3 separate regions of the Homo sapiens genome follow, and regions 2 and 3 are each linked to region 1. The links are contacts of gene promoters, found by promoter capture Hi-C in blood cells and fetal thymus (Javierre and others, 2016). All regions are on one chromosome and are shown on one strand. Each heading gives the region's core, a stretch centred on a gene start or on the middle of the fragment in contact. The rest is flanking DNA. Distances are from core to core; before and after follow the strand shown.

What was found. Contacts are between HindIII fragments. The CHiCAGO score rates a contact against its expected background, and 5 or more counts as called.
Region 2: a contact is called between a fragment that was not itself captured here and the fragment with the promoter of KLHL15 in region 1, in 9 of 17 cell types (activated CD4 T cells, naive CD4 T cells, naive CD8 T cells and 6 more). The highest score is 8.7, in activated CD4 T cells.
Region 3: a contact is called between a fragment that was not itself captured here and the fragment with the promoter of KLHL15 in region 1, in 3 of 17 cell types (total B cells, activated CD4 T cells and monocytes). The highest score is 8.3, in total B cells.

What each region holds. Positions count from the first base shown.
Region 1 is chrX:24,025,440-24,029,113 of GRCh38, reverse strand. It overlaps KLHL15 (kelch like family member 15), which reads left to right and starts at 1,928. Exons shown (of 4, transcript NM_030624.3): 1 at 1,928-1,974. RefSeq lists enhancers at 849-1,348, 2,556-3,059, 3,060-3,564 and silencers at 3,227-3,326, 3,337-3,674. The HindIII fragment of the contact is 3,234 bases long and covers 1-2,304 here.
Region 2 is chrX:23,890,376-23,894,049 of GRCh38, reverse strand. The region is part of intron 1 of APOO (apolipoprotein O); the gene reads left to right. Among named protein-coding and RNA genes, the nearest start is that of APOO, 16 kb to the left of the region's middle. The HindIII fragment of the contact is 7,288 bases long and covers 1-3,674 here.
Region 3 is chrX:24,161,235-24,164,908 of GRCh38, reverse strand. The region is part of intron 3 of ZFX (zinc finger protein X-linked); the gene reads right to left. Among named protein-coding and RNA genes, the nearest start is that of ZFX, 13 kb to the right of the region's middle. The HindIII fragment of the contact is 1,772 bases long and covers 825-2,596 here.

The sequences.
Region 1 (3,674 bases), core at 679-3,178:
TATGGAATGAATAAATAAATAGTATAGTAGATTGCAAACCAACAATTTGTGGAATTAAGTAGGAATAAAAATACAACTATGTGAAGATCATTTACTATGTTAATATAATTACATGGTACAGTGGAAAGATCATGGGGTGGCTGGGTGCGGTTGATCACGCCTGTAATCCCAACACTTTGGGAGGCTGAGGTGGATGGATTACTAGAGGTCAGGAGTTCGAGACCAGCCTGGCCAACATGGGAAAACCCATCTCTACTAAAGTTACAAAATTTAGCTGGGCGTGGTGGTGTGTGCCTGTAGTCCCAGCTACTTGGGAGGCTGAGGCAGGAGAATCACTTGAACCTGGGAGGCAGAGGTTGCAGTGAGCCAATCACGCCACTGCACTCCAGCCTGGATGATAGAGGGAGACTCTGTCTCAAAAAAAAGAAAAAAAAAAAAAGTAAAAAGAAAAGTGATTACCAAGACAACTACCACAGACTGGGAATTTCTGAAAAGCCTCAACTTTTCTTTTCTTTTTTTTTTTTTTGAGACAGCGTCTAGTTCCGTTGTCCAGGCTGGAGTGCAGTGGTGCAATCTCGACTCACTGCAACCTCTGCCTCCTGGGCTCAAGCCATACTCCTACCTCAGCCTCCTGAGTAGCTGGGACCGCAGGCCCGCACCACCATGCCAGCTAATTTTTTGTATTTTTAATAGAGACGGGGTTTCACTATGTTCGTCAGGCTGGTTTCCAACTCCTGACCTCTAATGATCCTTCCGCCTCGGCCTCCCAAAGTGCTGGAATTACAGGCGTGAGCCACCACGCCTGGCCTCAATTTCTTAAAAAGCAAAAACAGGAGGGAGGAGGAGGGTATGCAGTATCCTAAATCCTCAGAACCCCTGGGGAAGAACCTCATTCCAACTCCACCAGCACTCCCAGGCCCAGGCTTCTAGCATGCTTCCGACCTCGCTAGCTGCTAAATAAATAGCTATTGAGGAATGTGTATTCTCAAATACTTAGGCTAGAGGGCTAAGAAAAGACAGCTTCCATCTACCTCTGTGGGACTCTACCAGTGTGAAAGGATACTCTCAAGGTATTTAACAACTCCCATTACAGTCCAGAAATTGGTGGGGAAAGTTAAAATATATTTTCTTTTCTTTTTTTTTTTTGAGACGGTGTTTTTGCTCTGTTGCCTGAGCTGGAGTGCAGTGGCTCACGCTTGTAATCCCAGCACTTTGGGAGGCCAAGGCGGGCGATCATGAGGTCGGGGGTTTGAGACCAGCCTAGCCAACACAGTGAAACCCCGTCTCTACTAAAAATACAAAAGTTAGCTGGGCACGGTGGCGAGCGCCTGTAATCCCAGCTACTCGGGAGGCTGAGGCAGGATAATCGCTTGAACCCGGGAGGCGGAGGTTGCAGTCAGCCGAGATCCACTGCACCCCAGCCTGAGCGACAGACTCCATCTCAGAAAAAAACAAGCAAACAAAAACAAAACAAACAAACAAACAAAAACAAGAAAAGAAAAGTTAGCCGAGCATGGTGGGGCACGTCTGTGGTCCTAGCTATTCGGGAGGCTGAGGTGGAAGGATTGCTTGAGCCCGGGAGGTCAAGGCTGCAGTGAGCTGAGATCATGCCTCTGCCCTCCAGCCTGGCCGAGAGTGAGACTGTCTCAAAAAAAAAATAATAATAATAACATAAAAATAAGAAATAAGAGTGAAAGAGGCATCATTGATTGAAGATAACTTGGGGAGGGGTTCATATAGTAAACGTATAGATTGATTGAAAGACACAGCCCAGTTTTAAAACTACATAAATATCCAAAAAAGCACATTTGAAATTCCACGAGACCTTGCAATGTCAAAATAAGGAGGGACGGGAAGCACGGTGATCACACAATGGCTTATGACATACACTCACTACATTTATACCTGGTACAAAGAGCGCAGAAACGTTTCAACTCTTGCTTGAATCAAGAACAGAAGCCTCTCTTTAGACAGGTCAGTGCCACATAGTAATGTATAGCTTAAAATGTTAGTTAATGTACAAAAATCCAAACTCAGCGTTTAGATGTTCGGGAATAATGCATGAACATTTAAATATTCAGAAGTGGAATGTATGCATTTTTAAAGTTTATTTTATGATTTAATTTTAAAAATTTGTTTTAATGTGAAATTCTGGGGTAATTTGTCATGTAGTAATAGATACAAATATGGCAAGCAGGGATTTTTAAATAATGAACAGAAATATCTTAAAGGAGCTATTGGAAAAGATGGAAAGAAAGTGTGAACAACTTGGGAATTTCAGTGTCTTACAGTTTTTTTAAAGCTTGTTATAGTTTAAATCGGAATAAGGAAGCGTATTTCCAAAAGATTGAAGTGATTGTGTTATCTCTCCCACGAAGTAGTCTACTTCAGCAAAACAGTACACCGTGTGCTATTTTGGCCTCTTGGGAAAGATGGTATGTTCAAGTTTGCTAGAAAGAGATAATTATCGCTTTTAGCGACACCTCTCACGGAAAGTTCATCGGGATATTGGTCTAGAGAGAAAATGGCGGCGGGGGGTGGGGGTGGGGGAAGCCGAAATACCTCAGTTTAGGATCTGCTATGGGCAATGGATGCCCTAATTTAAGGTTAATTGTAGATCCACGGGCTTCCAACTGTGTATTTCCGTCATCTACACTTTTCCCAGAAAGAGATGCCATAATAAATTTACAAAACAGTCCTATAGTCTAGTTTTATATTCTTGTCAAGAAAAGGTAATATTTAAAAAGTACTAGCTAGAATTCTATAAAAAACGAACAACAAAAATCACTGCCCTCTGAATGTTCGTTCTTGATTATTTTGACGCAAGTAGAGACAGCTTTTTTAAATCCGGCATTATCTCCGGGTGGTGCAGACATGCAATTTTTTATGAATTTTCCCACCCTTGGGAAATCGATTTCTGAAACGTGTAATTGTTGTGCAGTAAGCCAAGTGGACAGTGACGCAATAGTCCACTGCAAGTTGCCTTACAAAAAATGATGTCATTTGGCGCAGATCTAGTCACTTTTATAACAGGTAGCTATGGAAAAGCTCCCTCCACGTTGTCCCCGATTCCCCCACCCCCACCGTGGCCAAGATGCAAAAAGACACTTTCCTGGCTTCCTAGCCCTCAACTTGTCGAGGGTGGGCGCACCGCAGTGGCTCAGGGCCCATCGCTCGTGCAGGCGGAGAGAGACCGCTGCAAGGGGACGAGGACAGCTGAGTGTCCTCAGCCCCGACGGCGGCGCCGCGGGGGAAGCTGCGTCGGGCCCAGTCCAGGGCCGCGACGCCCGGCCGCCTGTTTTCCTCGGTGGGAAACCGCTGGCGTGGCGGGCCGGCAGCCGGGACGCGGGGCGCCGCGGGCGCGGGACAGCCTTCCCCGCCCCCCCTTCCCCCCCGTTCCCACACCCGCTCCCGCTCCCGTGGCGCCGGAAGTGACGCGTTTTGGGCTGAAAGATGGCGGCATTGGCGCTCGACCAGGGGGAAGGTAAACACCCGCCAGGCCACGGGCTGGCCCCCTCGGGGCGCCAGCAGGGGCCGAGGGGGGGGCCTCCCGGGCCAGCTCCCCGCCCCCAACGGCTTCCCACCCTCCGCCCTCTCTCCCAGCGTGGCGGCCTTCCGCGTCAAGACGACAGCGCACTGGGCCCCCTGCCGGCCAGCCCCGCCTCCCTGGGCGG
Region 2 (3,674 bases), core at 656-3,155, 140 kb after region 1:
GAAAAGAAAACATCTATTTAAAAAAAATGTTGTAAGTAATACTGAAATACTTTTCCTTGTAAAAAGTCAAAATAGTACAGTTGGTCAGGTTGCTATTGTCCACCTCCCCCCAGCCCCCTTTCCAGAGAAAGCCTCTGTTCTGTTTGGTGTGTGGCCCTACATGTTAGAAAGGATTGCTGGCCGGGCATGGTGGCTCATGCCTATAATCCCAGCACTTTGGAAGGCCGAGGCAGGCAGATCACCTGAGATCAGGAGTTCGAGACCAGCCTGGCCAACATGGAGAAACCCCATCTCTACTGAAAATACAAAAAAAATTAGCTGGGCGTGGTGGCAGGCACCTATTATTCCAGCTACTCAGGAGGCTGAGGCTGGAGAATCACTTGAACCCAGGAGACGGAGATTGCAGTGAGCCGAGATTGTGGCACTGCACTCCAGCCTGGGTGGCAAGAGTGAAACTCTGTCTCAAAAAATAAAAAATATAAAAATAAAAGATTGCTGTATAAAATGTAGATACTGTCCTGAATGCTCCTTATGGAGGAGAGTATTCTGTATTCTTTTGACGTTTCAAGAATTGTGGACTCATTTCTCTTGATTTTTATTTTTATTTATTTATTTATTTATTTTTCAGACGGAGCCTTGCCCTGTCGCCCAGACTGGAGTGCAGTGGCGTGATGTCGGCTCACTGCAAGCTCCGCCTCCCAGGTTTTCTCCTGCCTCAGCCTCCTGAGTATCTGGGACTACAGGTTCCCACCACCACGCCTGGCTAATGTTTTGTTTTTTTTTTTTTTGTATTTTTAGTAGAGATGGGGTTTCACCATGTTAGCCAAGATGGTCTCGATCTCCTGACCTCGTGATCTGCCCGCTTCGGCCTCCCAAAGTGCTGGGATTACAGGCGTGAGCCACCGCGCCCGGCCTTTCTCTTGATTTTTCATTCAATTTACAACACGTTACTGAGGACAACAGTGTAGCCTGATTTTGACAAAATTTTTTTATTGTCTTCATCATTTTGTTGTATTCTGAGTTCTTTCACATAGTTCTTTTTTTTGTGTTGGTTACTTAGAATAAGAATAATCTCAAAAGTATTGTCAGTGTTCATAGTTTGTTTTTTTTTTTTGTAAAAAACCCATTTCAGATTTTTACCTCCTAAATAATTAGAATCAGATTAAAATAGTTTTGTTTCGAGTGAAAAATGCTGTCAGAATGGAAATTATTGCAGAAAAGGTTGACTGAGGCCAGGCGCGGTGGCTCACGCTTGTAATCCCAGCACTTTTTTTTTTTTTTTGTGACGGAGTCCCGCTCTGTCGCCCAGGTTGGAGTGCAGTGGCGCGATCTTGGCTCACTGCAAGCTCCACCTCCCAGGTTCACGCCATTCTCCTGCCTCTGCCTCCTGAGTAGCTGGGACTACAGGCGCCCGCCACCATGCCCTGCTAATTTTTTGTATTTTTAGTAGAGATGGGGTTTCACTGTGTTTCTAGGATGGTCTCGATTTCCTGACCTCGTGAACTGCCCACCTTGGCCAATTCCAGCAGTATGAGAGGCCAAGGCAGGTGGATCACCTGAGGTAAGGAGTTTGAGACCACCAGCCTAGCCAACATGGTGAAACCCTGTCTCTACTAAAATTCCAAAAAGTAGCTGGGCATGGTAGCGGGCGCCTGTAATGCCAGCTACTTGGGAGGCTGAGGCAGGAGAATCGCTTGAATCCGAGAGACGGCGGAGGTTGCAGTGAGTGGAGATCGCGCCACTGCACTCCAGGCTGGGCGACAGTGCGAGACTCCGTCTCAAAAAAAAAAAAAATAATTAGCTGGGTGTGGTGGTGGCTGCCTGTAATCCCAGCTACTTGAGAGGCTGAGGCAGGAGAATCGTTTGAACCCCAGGGGCACGGAGGTTGTCTTGAGCCGAGATTGCGCCACTTCACTCCAGCCTGGGTGAAAGAGCAAAACTCTGTCTCAAAAAAAAAAAAATTTATTTTCATTCTTTATCATTAAAGAGTTGCTTTTATGTTGTCCTTTGTGTGGCTTGTAGGATCATTAAATAAGGTAGAGAATCTCATAAAAACAGTTTTGGAGAAAGATAGTTGAAAGCATAATGTCATACATTTTAAATATATAAATGTAAACTATATATAGAAATACATAAAGTATTATATATACTTAAACTATATAAACTATATTTTTAAGTATATATAGTATGTATAAGTCTATAAGTATATATATACATATAGTTTATATACATATATATAAACTTGGTAGAAGGGTAAGATACTGTAAGTGTATATATACTTACATAGAGAGAGTTTAAATTATTTACATGGAAAATAGAAATAATATATTCCATCACTCCAAAAAAAAGGTCACCTTTGGATATAGCCTGTTTGAAGTAGCAGTTGAAAAGCCTGGTAACATGTCCCTCAGGGAGTTAGAAACACAGGAAACACACAAGCCTGAGGCTTAGGGAGAGGCCCAGGCTAGGGATACTGATTTGAGCATCAGTAGCATATGAGTGGGAGTTAAAGACTTAGATTTTGGCCAGGTGTGGTGGCTCACGCCTATAATCCCAGCACTTTGGGAGGCTGAGGCAGGTGGATCCCTTGAGCCCAGGAGTTTGAGACCAGCCTGGCCAACATGGCGAAACCCTGTCTCTACTAAAAACACAAAAATTAGCTGAGCGTGGTGGCGGGCGCCTGTAATCCCAGCTACTTGGGAGGCTAAAGCATGAGAATCCCTTGAACCCGGGAGGCGGAGATTGTAGTGAGCCGAGATCAGGCCACTGGACTCCAGTCTGGGTGACAGAGCGAGACTCTGTCTGAAAGAAAAAAAAAAGAAAGAATTAGATTTTAATGAAATTGCCCTGGAGTGAGAAGAGGAGAGAGTTAAAGACTACTCCATGACTCATCAACCTTGAAGAGCTATGCAGAGGAAGAGAAGGCCCAAAAGGGGAGGAGAGAGTACCTAGAAAGCCTCTAGAATGGGGATAGGGTAGAATCCTGTAAGCCAAAGAAAGGGGTTGAAGATGTAGAGTAGTCACCAGTTTCAGGGTGCAACCAAGATGCCAGATGTCCAGTGGGGTTTAGCAACTGGGAGGCTATTGGTGGTCTTGGGAAGAAAGGTTTTAGGTGCATTTAGTAGTAAAGGGAGGAGGAGATAAAATTGAGAAAGCAAACAGAATCTGCCTTTTTGACTTTGTGCTTAAATGCGGATGCTCCTCAGCTTGTGGTGGGGTTGCATTCTGATAAACCTATCATAAGTTGAAAATATCATTAAGTCAAAAATTAACACACCTAACCTACCAAACATCATAATTTAGCCTACCCTCCCTTAAATGTACTCAGAACACTTCCAGTAGCCCACAGTTGGGCAGAATCATCTAACACAAAGCCTATTTTATAATAAACTATTGAATGTTTCATGTACATTATTGAATACTGCACTGAAAGTGAAAAGCAGAATGGTTATATGGGTACTCAAAGTGCGGTTTCTACAGAATGCGTATCGCTTCTGCACCATGTAAGGTTGAACCATTTGTAAGTCTGAGACCATTTGTATAACATACATATAGGAAAGTAAACGGGGCATAAGTGAATTTTTACAAACTAAACATACTAGCACTCTAGAAGCTCTTCTCGTGGCCCTTCTAGTCACTACCCAGCTTGCTAAGGGTATCCACTATTCTGCCTT
Region 3 (3,674 bases), core at 461-2,960, 140 kb before region 1:
GAGTGCAACATCGCCATCTCAGCTCACTACAATCTCTGCCTCCCAGGTTCAAGCAATTCTCCTACCTCAGCCTCCCAAAAGTAGCTGGCATTTACAGGCATGCACCACCACGCCTGGCTAATTTTTTGTATTTTTTACTAGTAGAGACAGGGTTTCACCACGTTGGCCAGGCTGGTTTCGAACTCCTGACCTCAGGTGATCCACCCGCCTCAGCCTCCCAAAGTGCTGGGATTACAGGTGTGAGGCACCGTGCCCAGCCCTAAATATTCTTAAACTATGATCTTTCTTAACATAATTGTCTTGCCAACTCCCTTGTCACTGATCACCAACGCTGTAATTTGACCCATATTGACCATACTATATCTCACCTACATGAATGCATACTTACTATTATTGCTTTTCCTAAATACATTACTTTCGGCCTATGAGGTTCTGTAAACTCAGTGTTAACACTTACAGTATTCTCTGTATACCTTAAGCACTGGCAAGAATATAACACTGGGCCTTTCAACAACTAGAACAAATATTTTAAATGGACAGTTCCAGAATTGTGGGGTATTTTTACATTGATCTTTTGCTAATGCAATCAGCAATGTGTTTTGCACATGGAATTTAATAAATCCTTTAATCATTAAAAAAATAATAAAAGAAAAGAACAAGCTGGGCAATGCAGGGGCAGGTTTGAAATACGCCTGCTTCTCAAAAGACCAACAACAGGCATGCTCCAGGTTGAGTATCAGCAACCATTAATTTCATGACCATTCTCTGGAGCAAAGCTAGGGAGCCAGCTAATTTTTACCCCAAAAAAATCTCCAAACCAAGCTTTTTCCAGGGGGTTGGGAAGACAATAAAATACAAGATAATAATCTAAAAGAGGGGAAGAAACTGGGAGAAAGCACAAACATATACAATTTGAAATAAGAAAAAAAAAAAACAGAAAAAAAGAAAACAACTTGTATGAAAATGGTCTAGAATTCTACACTAGCACAGTGACGGAAAATGTAAATTACCAGCATTAACTCAATAAAAGAAAACCCGATCGTAATGAATTTTTTTTTTTTTTTTTTTCTTTTTTTTAAAAGAGGGGGCCTGGGCACAGTGGCTCACACCCGTAATCCCAGCGCTTTGGGAAGCCAAGGCAGGAGATCACTTGCAGCAAGGAGTTCAAGACCAGCCTGGACAAAATAGCTAGACTCCATCTTGACAAAATAATTTTAAAAATTAGCTAGGCGGCCGGGCATGGTGACTAATGCCTGTAATCCCAGCACTTTGGAAGGCTGAGGTGGGTGGATCACCTGAGGTCAGGAGTTCGAGACCAGCCTGGCCAACATGGTGAAACCCCATCTCTACCAAAAATACAAAACTTAGCTGGGCGTGGTTGCTCGCGCCTGTAGTCCCAGCTACTCAGGAGGCTGAGGCACGAGAATCACTTGAACCCAGGAGGCAGAGGTTGCAGTGAGCCAAGATCGCGCCATTGCACTCCAGCCTGGGCGACAGAGTGAGACTCTGTATCAAAAAAAAAAAAAAAAAAAAAAAAAAAAAAACCTAACAAAAATAATTTAACCAAATTACAAACTTGGTTAATTATGAATCCCAAGTCAAGTATCCGCAAATATGATCCGTCATGTAAAAAAAAAAAAAAAAAAAAAAGCACATCCATGTACATGTACACACACACACACACACACCACAGACCTTGGCACAGTATGGGTACTCTAGAATTCAAGGATGGAGCCAAATAATGGCCCAAATTAATAGGTCAAAAAAAAAAACGCCTGATATTCTCAACAGATGCTGAAAAGTTGAAACTGAACGCCTACTTTTGATTTAAAGCAAACTTTTGAGTCAAATTGGGATAGATATTTTAACAGTTAACAAATTAAATAAATAGGATACACGCTAAAACATGGATGACCTTGAAAACAATATGCTAAGTGAAAGGAGCCAGACACGAAAGACCACGTTATAGGATTCCATTTATATGAAACGTCAGGAACAAGCAAATCCACACAGACAGAAGGTAGATTAGTGGTTGCTAGGGGATGAAGGAAGCGGGGAGAGGAGAGTGATTACCAGTAGGTGTAGGGTTTCTTTTTGGGGTGACGAAAATGTTCTAATTAGTGATAATAGTTACAGAACTCTGAATCTACTAAAAAACCACTGAAATGTACATTTTAAAGGGTAGATTTAATAATAGCTTTATCTCAATAAAGCTGTTTAAAAAATACTCAAGTATATGCAATCTTAAACCAGTTCATGTCAGAACATGTGTTTTGGGATATGAGAATGATGTCAGTTATCACTTTATAACAAAAAGACATCTATTAAACCTAAGGTAAAACATTAGAAGTATTCTCTCTAAAGTCAAAATTAAGAATGGCCATTAATACTATTATTATAGGATTGTGTGACAAATGCCAGCCAGTGTAATTAGGTAAGATGATGAAATAGAAGATATAATTATTACTTGAAGGAAATTAAACTTATTTGCATATGCTATATCTAGGAAATACAAGAGAATCAACTGAAAAACTATTATCGGTATGAATTCATAAGGTGTGCTGGTACAAAATTAATATACTTGAAGACAAAAGCTTTCTCATGTAAACACCTAAGAATGAAAAAATCCCACTGATAAGAGTAATTAAAAACTCTACTGTGTGGGATTTTTTTGTTTTTTGAGACAGAGTTTCACTCTTGTTGCCCAGGCTGGAGTGCAATGGCACGATCTCAGCTCACCACAACCTCTGCCTCCCAGGTTCAAGCGATTCTCCTGCCTCAGCCTTCCAAGTAGCTGGGACTACAGGCATGTGCCACCACGCCCAGCTAGAGATTTCTTTTTTTTTTTTTTTTCCTTTTTAGACAAATAAATAGAGAAAGCAATCTTGCTCTTGAATATGTTACATTAGGGCCAGGTGCAATGGCTCACACCTGTAATCCCAGCACTTTGGAAGGCTGAGGCAGGTAGATCACTTGAGGTCAGGAGTTCGAGACCAGGCTGGCCAACATGGTGAAACCCCGTCTCTACTAAAAATACAAAAGCTAGGCAGACATGGGGGCGCACACCTGTAATCCCAGCTACTCGAGAGGCTGAGGCAGAAGAAGAATCACTTGAACACAGAAGGCAGAGGCTGCAGTGAGCCAAATTTGCACCACTGCACTGCATTCCAGCCTGGATGACAGAGGAAGACTGTCTTTAAAAAAAAAAAAAAAAAAGAAAGAAAAAGAAAAAAAAGAATATGTTAGATTAGTAGTATCACTTCTCCCTTAATTAACCTCTACATTCAATCAAAATCCCAATACACCTTTCTTTAAATCAACTGACCTTGTATGTGTAGGTCAACTTTTGGACTCTATCCTGTGCCACTGGTCAATCTGGCTTTGCGCCCACTAATTTAATCACTGTAGCTTTATAATAAGTGTTGATATATGTTAGTGTTAAGTCTTCCAACTTTTTCTCAAGATTGCCTTTGCCATTCTTGGCCCTGTGCCTTTCCATGTAAATTTGAGAACTAGCCTATCCAAAAGAAAAAAAAGCAGCAGTGGCAGCAGCAACAGCCCTATTGAGATATTTATTGCGATTGCACTGAATTTCTGTATGTATCAATTTAGAGAGAACGGACATCTTTACAATACTGACACTTCCAATCCAATGAACATGGTTATCTCTTGCC